Linked DNA regions of Homo sapiens: regions 1, 3 and 4 are each linked to region 2. Evidence: promoter capture Hi-C in 16 types of primary human blood cells and fetal thymus (Javierre and others, 2016). All regions are on one chromosome and are shown on one strand. The core of a region is centred on a gene start or on the middle of the fragment in contact, and the rest is flanking DNA. Distances in the headings are between cores, read along the strand shown. Region 1 overlaps PARP1 (poly(ADP-ribose) polymerase 1). Region 2 holds the start of ACBD3 (acyl-CoA binding domain containing 3). Region 3 has its middle 25 kb from the start of LEFTY2. Region 4 overlaps SDE2 (spliceosome associated SDE2).

What was found. Contacts are between HindIII fragments. The CHiCAGO score rates a contact against its expected background, and 5 or more counts as called.
Region 1: a contact is called between a fragment that was not itself captured here and the fragment with the promoter of ACBD3 in region 2, in 1 of 17 cell types (total B cells). The highest score is 5.5, in total B cells.
Region 3: a fragment that was not itself captured here is called in contact with the fragment with the promoter of ACBD3 in region 2 in 1 of 17 cell types (neutrophils); the score reaches 5.0 in neutrophils.
Region 4: a fragment that was not itself captured here is called in contact with the fragment with the promoter of ACBD3 in region 2 in 1 of 17 cell types (activated CD4 T cells); the score reaches 6.1 in activated CD4 T cells.

Annotation. Positions count from the first base shown.
Region 1 is chr1:226,404,130-226,406,829 of GRCh38, reverse strand. The region is part of intron 1 of PARP1 (poly(ADP-ribose) polymerase 1); the gene reads left to right. Among named protein-coding and RNA genes, the nearest start is that of PARP1, 2.6 kb to the left of the region's middle. RefSeq lists an enhancer at 113-172. The HindIII fragment of the contact is 1,899 bases long and covers 325-2,223 here.
Region 2 is chr1:226,185,299-226,187,998 of GRCh38, reverse strand. ACBD3 (acyl-CoA binding domain containing 3) reads left to right here and starts at 1,258. Exons shown (of 8, transcript NM_022735.4): 1 at 1,258-1,609. The coding sequence starts at 1,324. LOC101927247 (a long non-coding RNA gene) reads right to left here and starts at 103. Exons shown (of 2, transcript XR_001738504.2): 1 at 66-103. RefSeq lists silencers at 1,357-1,651, 1,288-1,767. The HindIII fragment of the contact is 12,408 bases long and covers 1-2,700 here.
Region 3 is chr1:225,964,892-225,967,591 of GRCh38, reverse strand. No RefSeq gene overlaps it. Among named protein-coding and RNA genes, the nearest start is that of LEFTY2, 25 kb to the right of the region's middle. The HindIII fragment of the contact is 9,237 bases long and covers 1-2,700 here.
Region 4 is chr1:225,985,472-225,988,171 of GRCh38, reverse strand. SDE2 (spliceosome associated SDE2) reads left to right here. Exons shown (of 7, transcript NM_152608.4): 6 at 1-276; 7 at 2,649-2,700. Among named protein-coding and RNA genes, the nearest start is that of SDE2, 13 kb to the left of the region's middle. The HindIII fragment of the contact is 1,874 bases long and covers 420-2,293 here.

The DNA.
Region 1 (2,700 bases), core at 25-2,524, 220 kb before region 2:
GACATTTACCGAGTGGATACCCAAGTGCCAGGTGTACTTCCGTTATCTTATTTCACAATATGCCTGTCATCTTGGTGTCCTCGGGGCATACCTAAGTCAGTACGTGGCACACAGTGCTTATTTGGTAGGCATTTTTTAAGTTCTAAGCACTCTGTTAGGTTTTAAGGACACAGAATCCACCTTTGGGAATTTCCAGTTTGGTTAAACGGGAAATGACTGGTAAACAAACGTTACCGTAAGAGAGGATGGATGCCACCTGATGGAGCTGTGCTCTAGGCATTGTGTGCCTAGGAGTCCGAGATGACCCAGCTAAGGGTGGAAGCTTGATTAGGAGTCGTTAATTCACAGAAGTGGAGCAGAAAGATGAGAATAGGGAAGTAGACAGGGCCTACAATTTGAAGAGCCTTGTTGCCCACTAAGGAACCTAGAACTTACTTTGAATATACAAGGCAGCCTGTTATGAAGTTCTCACTCCTGGTGCAGGAGCTCTTAACCCAGGGTCTGTGGGATGGTAGGTAGAAGGCAAGAGGTCCATGAGTTTAGATAAGAAAAAATTGATATCTCCATCTCCACTAACCTCTAGATAAAATTATTTCCTCTAATCATAAATGTAAGCAGCAAAGCAAAGGCATATTAGCAGTCCCTATTTTTTTTTCACCAGTGATAATTACAGATATTTTCATATCACTTTACAGTTGGAAGTTTTTCAAAATATAATTTACTCTCATTGCTACAAAAATCACAGTTATTAGAGGCTGTACTAGATCTTGTTATTTAATGCTTAAAAGCTCACGGGTTACTGTACCCAAATTACCTTTCAAATGTTTTGATAATTATCTCAGTGTTTCCTTTTCGAGCCTTTTTGTTTGTTTTGTTTTTTGAGATGGGGTCTCACTATGTTGCCCAGGCTGGTCTCAAACTCCTGAGCTCAAGCGATCCATGCACCTCGGCCCCACAAAGTGCTAGGGTTACAGGCATGAGCCACCGTGACTGGCCATTTGCGAGCCTTTTTATTACGCATTTTTAAATGTTATTCTGAGAAAGGGACATCCAGGCGCCTTAACAGGTGGGCAGAGTACCGTGTTCTGGTGGAAAGACAAACAAAACCCAAGTCCAGACTGTGTTGAGGCTAGAACAACACCGCTGTGGAGGAAGTTAGAGGAGGCTTAGCTGTGGGGGAGGCCGGATGGAGGAAACTGAACCTGATCAAGTTTAGCATTCTGGGGCCGGGCTTGGTGGCGCATGCTTGTAATCTCAGCACTTTGGGAGGCTGGGGTGGGCAGATTACTTAAGCTCAGCAGTTTGAGACCAGCCTGGCCAACATGGTGAAACCTGTCTCTACAAAAAAATGCAATGATTAGCGGGTCGTGGTGGTGCGTGCCTGTTAAGTCCCAGCTACTCCGGAGGCTGAAGCTGGAAGATTGCTTGAGCCTGGGAGGTGGAGGTTGCAGTGAGCTGAGATAGTGCCACTGCACTCCAGCCTGGGCGACAGACCCAGACCCAGACCCAGACCCTGTCTGAAAAAAAAAATAGTAATAACAACATTCTGGGCTTTCCTTTGGTATACTTGATAGTGAAAGAAACTCTTTATTATTAAAAGTAACTGTGATTTTTATGTAATGGTGATTAAGGGTGGATTCAGAGTTTTAATTCAGAATTTAAAGTTGGTCTGGTAGACTGAGCTGGTGAAGGCCAAAAAGAAAGAAGCCTTTTCACTTGCTTGAATTTAAATACCTTCTTTTACATTTACATGGGAGTATTGTTCTCTGAGTATCTGATACCTGACACTTTAGCCCTCATGCCTGGGGCATCTTGGGAGGGATGAGCTGGGCCCTCCAGCATTTTGGTGGGAGGAGGATGGCGGTAGACCTTTGAGTTGCTCTGTCCTGGGAGGGTTTGAGCACCCGGAGGCATGCAGTGAGGTCAGTTCATTCTCTCTGTGGCCTAGGTGGACAGGTAGCATGGCCTGTTCTGCACAGAAGGGAACCCAGTTCACCAGCTGCTGGTTGGGTGAGGACCCTGGTATGTTAGGTGCTCAGTTTTTGCTTGGGTGCACAGCCAAAGATTCTGTGCCTTGCCTCAGCTGTGCAGCTAACAAATGGAGTCGATAGTCTTGTGACCTTGGTTTGGTGCCTTTCTGCCACATCATTCTCAGTCCTGAGTTTAGGGCAAAGCATTGCTTTGGTCAGGGGTGCTTCTGCTGAGGCTCTTGTCCTCTAAGCTTGTGCTGTGATTGCACCATTGGGCAGCACCTCCAGGGTGTCCAGCACTGTGCCGGTGGTTGGGGGAGACAGCACCCAGACCAAAGGGCAGCAGGTCTGGGGCCCCTGGCAGAGCCAGGAAGAAGTGCCATAGCCATTACCTGTGCTCTTTATACAAGGGTAACTGGAACATTGCACAGGAAGGGTAGACAAGGGGTAGACAAGCAGGCAGAGCCAGGTCGAGGCCATTGCAAATATTCCATGATAGCCAGATGCTTAGGGATCTGTATCAGCAGCCTAATTGAGATCTGGTGGAACGTTTGAGAGTTGGAACATGAGTATGCTCTCAGAAATGCCATTTGTTGTCTCTTCTACAGCAGGAATTTCCCCATCCTTCCTTTTTTGTTCCATCTGACTTGGAGCCCTAAGCAAACACTGCGTGCCCTCTGTGACATGTTGCTAGAGAATAGCAAGATAGGCCCTTATGAAATAATCACCA
Region 2 (2,700 bases), core at 9-2,508:
AAAGACTGATCTTTCTCTTTTCTTTATAGAGAATTACAAAATACGCCGGGCGCGGTGGCTCTCACCTGTAATCCCAGCACTTTGGGGAGGCTGAGGCGGGCAGATCACATGAGGTCAGGAGTTTGAGACCAGCCTGGCCAACATGGGGAAACTCTGACTCTACTAAGTTTACAAAAATTAGCCGGGCGTGGTGGTGAGCACCTGTAATCCCAACTACTTGGGAGGCTGAGGCAGGAGAGTTGCTTGAACCCGGGAGGCAGAGGTTGCAGTGAACCGAATTGCACCACTACACTCCAGCCTGGGTGGCACAGCAGGACTGTCTGCAAAAAACAAAAAAAAAAAAAAAAAAAAAAAGTTACAAAATAATTGTTATAGGAAAAGGCAATCAGAAGTACGCAGCCAAAACAAAGGTGGGAAAAATGATCATAAATGGTGCTCCCAAAGTCTGGAAACACAGGTGAATATACATAATGTCGGGGGCGACTTCAATCTTTTAGAAAAAAATAGGTTTCTGGGCTCTCAGACGCCCTGTAGAAGAATATCAGGCAGTCAATGAAAATATTACGGTTATGTGTGTGATGTTTGTGGGTTTTATTAACTTTTAAAATATCATTTGTTTTTTCTTTCTCTTTCTAAATATACATTCACTTTCCTACCCTTCTGCGCGTAACTTTTTGTACTCTTTCCTAATGAGGGTCCCCACAAATTGTATGAGCTGCGCTTCCTGCAAAACCAGGATCAGCCCCGTCTGCAACCTCAAAGTCACTGAATTTCTCTGCAGTCTCAGTTTCCCCTTTTAAAAAAATTGGGAATTTGCCCTGCATTTCCTTAGAGTTGCTGTGAAGGCCAAACGAGATGGTGGTGGGCAAAAGAGCTCTGCCAACCACGCAGGCCCCTGCAAATGTGAAGGGCCTCTGACCTGGAGGGTTGGGTGCTGGCCGACCTCGTCAATCCTCCCTACTCCGACCCCCGCGCGGGGCTCCACTGACCCCGCCCCTGCTGGGCACTGACAGCCGCAGCACCGAACCGAGCGGTGGGGGTGGTAGCACCCGCCCACCTGGAGCAACTGGGATCCGAAAGGATGGGGTGCGGGGGAGGGGAGTTCGGGACCAACGGGAGTTGGGGAGCCTGAAGGGTGGTCGCTGAGCCAGGGCAACTGACGATTCCGGAGGGGGTGGGGCGCCAGGCCTCAGCCCCTCTCCCGGAGCCCTCCAGCCTCCTCAGCAGCGGAAGTTCCGGTGTCGGTAAGCGGAGGTCAGAGGTCAGCAGGAAGTCGATACGTGGCTGCCGTCTGTCCCCGCTGAGGAGGTGCAGCAGCCGGAGATGGCGGCGGTGCTGAACGCAGAGCGACTCGAGGTGTCCGTCGACGGCCTCACGCTCAGCCCGGACCCGGAGGAGCGGCCTGGGGCGGAGGGCGCCCCGCTGCTGCCGCCACCGCTGCCACCGCCCTCGCCACCTGGATCCGGTCGCGGCCCGGGCGCCTCAGGGGAGCAGCCCGAGCCCGGGGAGGCGGCGGCTGGGGGCGCGGCGGAGGAGGCGCGGCGGCTGGAGCAGCGCTGGGGTTTCGGCCTGGAGGAGTTGTACGGCCTGGCACTGCGCTTCTTCAAAGGTGAGCCGGGCCAGCCCCACCCCCGCCGCTTCTGCCCGGCCCCGGGAGCCCGGCGTGGGCTGTGGTCCCCAGGGTGACTGGACCAGACTTGCCCTCACCCACTCATACTGGGCTGTGGTGACTCAAGCGGGGTTCCCTCCTTGGGGGTACCCGAAGTTTGTCACTACCCGCTTGGCCACTAGGTCACACCCCTGACGGGCCTGCAACCTTGGTTTAGCAGTCATGTCCCGCCTCCCAGAGGTTACCGGGACATTTTACCTGATTTAGCTTCTGGGATTTCCAGGAGCCCTGGTGGAAGAATGAGCCCACTTTCTTCCAAAGGATCCCATTCTGGGATTGCCTTTTATTATTATTATTTTTTTAACTGACGCTTTTCTTTTCCTATTTCCCATGGCTTGTCACATCAGAACCCGCCGATTTTTACCCTTAGTGGAAGAAATCTGTCAAGAGGTTCCATACATAGCTTTTCCAGCCATTCTTGGGAACCATAAACTGGAACAGGACTTGATCCCCCGGCAGATTGATGTGGCAGAGAGGAGGAAGTAAAGTGTTAAGCTCATCATCCTCTCCGGCTTGTCAAACTCTTGAGGAGAGATGTCCACTATGTTCTAGTAACTTCTAGGTGGTTAAAATTTTACATTGTAAGCAATGTGCAAGAGTGAATTCTCAGAGTAAGGCCTAACAGTACCTTCTGTGCTTTTCGCATAATTAATTGTTAAATGTCTCTTGTCTTAGAGCAAGATTGTAGTGTGCGGTTTTTTTTTTTTTTAATTGGGTGATTCACTTAGTCGAATGGTGGAGAGACCAATCACATGATTTTTGTCAGTGGGAAAAACTGATGAAAGCCCGTTAGTTTGATTCTTAAAGATACTTAGTCTTGTAGGGCGAATGGACAGGGAGGGACATCAGCAAATGCAACTTTAAAAGTGGTTGCTAGGTTCCACGTACATTCCAGAGCAGCATATTTATGACACTTTCCCCAGAGGGAGTACCTTTTGGAGTACATATTTTACTAGCCAAAGTTGAGTAGTTCAATGTAATGATACACACGGAAGTTGTTTTCTCTCAAAATAACTTTAATTGTGCAAACT
Region 3 (2,700 bases), core at 125-2,624, 220 kb after region 2:
CAACCTCTGCCTCCAGGGTTCAAGCAATTCTCATGGCTCAGCCTCCCAAGAAACTGTGACTACAGTTGCGCGCCACCATGCCTGGCTATTTTTTTTTTGTATTTTTAGTAGAGACAGGGTTTCACTCTGTTGGCCAGGCTGGTCTTGAACTCCTGGCCTCAGGTGATCTGTCCATCTTGGCCTCTCAAAGTGCTGGGATTATAGACATGAGCCACCGCGCCTGGCCCCTTACTTAATTTAGAGTAAAGGCAAAGACCTAAGTGATATTTTTATGTGTTGCAAATGTCTCCTCCTACTCTCAGCTTTCCATTTCCTTAATGGTGTCTTAAAAATTGTGTTATTGAATATAACATACAAACAGTATGAACAATGAATAAATCAGAATGTACAACGTGAATTTTTTTTTTTACAAATGAACTCTGTAACCAGCATCCAGATCAAGAAACAGAACATTATAAGAACTCCAAAGCCCTGGAGACCCCTTCTGGTCACTACCTTCCAAGGGTACCATTATCCTGACTTGTATAAATGGAATCTGAGAGAAGGCAAGTTTTCTTTTACATGTATGATGTATGTGGGATTCCCTATACGGTTTCATTCATTCATGAGTAGTGGTCATTCATTCATGTTCGTTGCTTTATAGTATTCTAGTGTGCAGCAATTCATCCACTCTACTATTGATGGATATTTGGATAATTCCCAGTTTGGGGGTATTATTAATGGTGCTGCTATGTGAAGGGGTGGCCTTCCCCTCCACACCTGTGGGTATTTCTAGTCAGGTGGGATGAGAGACTGAGAAAAGAAATAAGACACAGAGACAAAGTATAGAGAAACAACCGTGGGCCCAGGGGACTGGCACTCAGCATACCAAGGACCTGCACCGGCACCAGTCTCTGAGTTCCCTCAGTTTTTATTGATTATTATTTTTATTATTTTAGTAAAAAGGAATGTAGTAGGAGAGCAGGGTGATAATAAGGAGAAGGTCAGCAACAAACATGTGAGCAATAGAATCTATGTCATAATGAAGTTCAAGGGAAGGTACTATGACTGGACGTGCACGTAAGTCAGATTTATGTTTCTCTCCACCAAAACATCTCAGCAGAGTAAAGAATAACAAGGCAGCATTGCTGTAAACATGTCTTGCCTCCCACCATAGGGCGGTTTTTCTCCTATCTCAGAATTGAACAAATGTACAGTCGGGTTTTATACTGAGACATTCAGTTCCCAGGGGCAGGCAGGAGACAGTGGCCTTCCTCTATCTCAACTGCAAGAGGCTTTCCTCTTTTACTAATCCACCTCAGCATAGACCCTTTATGGGTGTCGGGCTGGGGGATGGTAAGGTCTTTCTCATCCCACAAGGCCATATTTCAGACTATCACATGGGGAGAAACCTTGGACAATACCCAGCTTTCCAGGGCAGAGGTCCCTGCGGCTTTCCGCAGTGCATTGTGCCCCTGGTTTATTGAGACTAGAGAATGGCGATGACTTTTACCAAGTATACTGCTTGTAAACATGTTGTTAACAAGGCACGTCCTGCACAGCCCTAGATCCCTTAAACTTTGATTTCGTACAACACATGTTTTTGTGAGCTCCAGGTTGGGTCAAAGTGGCTGGGGCAAAGCTACAAATTAACAACATCTCAGCAAAGCAACTGTTTAAAGTACAGGTCTTTTTCAAAATGGAGTCTCTTATGTCTTTCCTTTCTACATAGACACAGTAACAGTCTGATCTCTCTTTCTTTTCCCTACACTATGGAACATTCTCTCTCTCTCTCTCTCTCTCTCTCTCTCTCTCTCTCTCTCTGTAGCAATTTTACTGAACTGGTGCTGCTCCTTTTGTAGGAGGACTAACCCATAGGCACTGTGCCCAGAGTCAGCCTGAACATTCTAGAACTTGCTTTTGATCAACACCTTGTATTAGGGACAGAACTAAAGGGACAGAACTAATAGGATGTATGTATATATGAAAGGAAGTTTATTAAGGAGAATTGACTCACAAGATCACAAGGTAAAGTCCAACGATAGACTCTCTGCAAGCTCAGGAGCAAGGAAGCCAGTAGTGGCTTAGTCTGAGTCTCAAAACCTCAAAAGTCGGGAAGCTGACAGTGCAGCCTTCAGTCTGTGGCCAAAGGCCCGAGAGCCCCTGGCAAACCACCAGTGTAAGTCCAAGAGTCCAAAAACCAAAGAACTTGGAGTCTGATGTTCCAGGGCAGGAAGCATCGAGCACGGGAGAAAGATGAAGGCCTGAAGACTCAGCAACTCTGCCCTTCCATCTCCTGCCTGCTATTTCTAGCCATGCTGCCTCTCCCAGTCCACTGCCTCAAATGTTAATCTCCTCTGCTACCACTGTCACAAAAAAACACCCAGAAACAATACTTTGCATCCTTCAATCCAATCAGGTTGACACTTTTTTTTTTTTTGAGACAGAGTCATGCTCTGTCGCCCAGGCTGGGGTGCAGTGGCGCAATCTTGGCTCACTGCAACCTTTGCCTCCCTGGTTCAAGCAATTCTCCTGCCTCAGTCTCCTGAGTAGCTGGGACTACAGGTGCGCGCCATCATGCCTGGCTAATTTTTGTATTTTTAGTAGAGACGGGGTTTGCCATGTTGACCAGGCTGGTCTTGAACTTTTGGCCTCAAGTGATCTGCCAGCCTCAGCCTCCTCCCAAAGTGCTGGGATTACAGGTGTGAGCCACCACGCCCG
Region 4 (2,700 bases), core at 107-2,606, 200 kb after region 2:
ACTGACTCTGGGAGGCATATTTTAGAAGACTCATGTGCTGAGCTGGGGGAGTCCAAAGAGCACATGGAAAGCAGGATGGTTACAGAAACAGAAGAGACCCAGGAGAAGAAGGCAGAGAGTAAAGAACCCATAGAAGAGGAGCCCACTGGGGCTGGACTGAATAAGGATAAAGAGACAGAAGAAAGGACTGATGGGGAAAGAGTTGCTGAGGTAGCACCTGAAGAAAGGGAAAACGTTGCCGTTGCCAAACTGCAGGAAAGCCAGCCAGGAAACGCAGTAAGTATGTTTTGGGGTTGATACCTAGAGCCAAATCAGTTTAATCTCCACAATAAGTCATTAAAATGAAAATGTGCTTTTGCCCCTCAGCTGCTTAGTGAAAGGCTTATTTGATTTTAAGAAGTACAGATTATGGTGAAGCTTGCCTTATTCCCCAAAAACTTTTTAAGTTCTGGCATTTATACTATGTTGCCACTAGGTGGTGTCCTTGATTCCATATTGCATCAATTGTAAGATGCATGTTTTCCACATTTTAGCATGTCTAAAATGAGATGTGTATAACATATTATAACTTAATTGGTATTGTTTATTCTTAGTAATACATGAATGAGGGTATATTATGATAGATGGCATTTTAGATTTGATGAAATGTGCTCATTTTTCCCGTCACTAAATTGCTACTCAGCTTTTTCTAATGTGAGGATAGCTTGAACAATAGTTTCAGCTGAATGTGAAGACCTCTTCTATAGAAGAGGAACCTCCTTTTAAATTTATCATTAAATCTTAAGTACCCACAGTCAGCCTTTTAAAAAAGGCATCTTCAGCCAGGTGCGGTGGCTCACGCCTGTAATCCCAGCACTTTGGGAAGCTGAGGTGGGCAGATCACCTGAGGTCAGGAGCTTGACACCAGCCTGGCCAGCATGGTGAAACCCTGTCTCTATTAAAAATACAACAACAACAAAAATTAGCCGGGCATGGTGGTGCACGCCTGTAATCCCAGCTACTCAGGAGGTTGAGCCACGAGAATGGCTTGTGCCCTGGGAGGTGGAGGTTGCAGTGAGATGAGATTGTACCACTGTACTCCAGCCTGGGCGACAGAGTGAGACTCCATCTCAAAAAATAATAATAAAAAGGCATTTTCATAGTACATTCTCTCAAAAAGTTGGTTTTTCACTATCTACAATGGACTGGCTTCCAGCAAAAATCTCTGTGCTTTGATCTAATGGTTTGCTTTTTAGAATAGGTGAAACCTAAACTACTTAATTTCCTTCGATAAACACAAAACCTACCATTTGTTTAGCCAGCACCTTCCCCTGCCCCCAGTAAGTAAGTAAAAATGCATAAATTGCCCTTTCTGGTGAGACTATTGGAATTTTTTTATGCTAAGGTCCTTACAATCTCTGAATTTGTAAGCATGTAATTTTTGTGTTATGTGTATACAGGTAAGAGCTTTATCCTGACTGAAGTCTTAGAAAAATAAAAAAGGAATCATAGGATAAAACCTGATATTTTTCAGTGTTAGCCATGGAGTTTTGTTCTTGATGTTGTAGTAATAGCTGTTGTATTCCTAACAACCAAGTGTGATTCTTTAAACACACATAAGTGGCATTTTAGAATTTGGTCATAAATAAGCCAAGGTTAACTCCCAGAAATCTAACAAAACAGCTTTTTTAAGAAAACAAAGATCAACTAGAAAGATAGAGTATGTCTCCAGAGCTCTTTAATATTTTAAAACTGTGAAAGTTATTCTTTGAATATAAAAAATCACTCAAAGATAGACATTTTCATTCTTTTCAAGGTATCATTAGCAGTATTTAATTTTGTCTTTTTTTTTTTTTTAATGACAGAGTCTCACTCTGTTGCTCAGGCTGGAGTGCAGTGGTGTGATTTCTGCTCTACCTCCCAGGTTCAAGTGATTCTCCTGCCTCAGTCTCCCAAGTAGCTGAGACTACAGGCACGCTGAGACTACAGGCACGCACCACCACACCCGGCTAATTTTTGTATTTTTAGTAGAGACGGGGTTTCACCATGTTGACCAAGCTGGTTTCGGACTCCTAATCTCAAGTGTTCCGCCTGCCTCCACCTCCCAAAGGGCTGGGATTACAGGCTAATTTTGTCTTAAAGTCTATAAAGGCACTTGGTGGGTAGAACAGTTGCAAGTCTATTGAACAGCATTTGAGTTTGTTGAGTTATATAAGGGAGAGGTCTGACAATTAGTTTTAATTACTCAATTAGAATAGAAAGCATTAAGATTATGGAATTAGTAGATTCAGAGGCATGGGATTCTCATTAAGCTTTTAGGAGTGCCTGCTCTTTCTGTGGGAATAGTGTGGGGATAGGCTGGCTATATTTTACTGTTTAGATGTTTACTAGAAAAATCGGAAAAGAAAGCAATATTAAAAATCTGTTTGGGAATGCTATACTTCTGTTACTGTTCTGAATGCTTGTTTCTAAATGTATAGATGAAAAATTAGTTATTATGTGTGTTGAGAATACTTATGGAATAACATGTGGATGGATGATGATTAAAATTCAGTTGCAAGGTATGGCAAATTAAATGAAAATTTCTCAAGAAATGTAGTTGACAGTTAAAGAGTCTTTATTCAGAGGAAGGAGCCTGTTTTAAATATTTTCTTATTTTTTTCCCTCAGGTTATTGATAAGGAAACTATAGATTTATTGGCGTTCACCTCTGTTGCAGAAC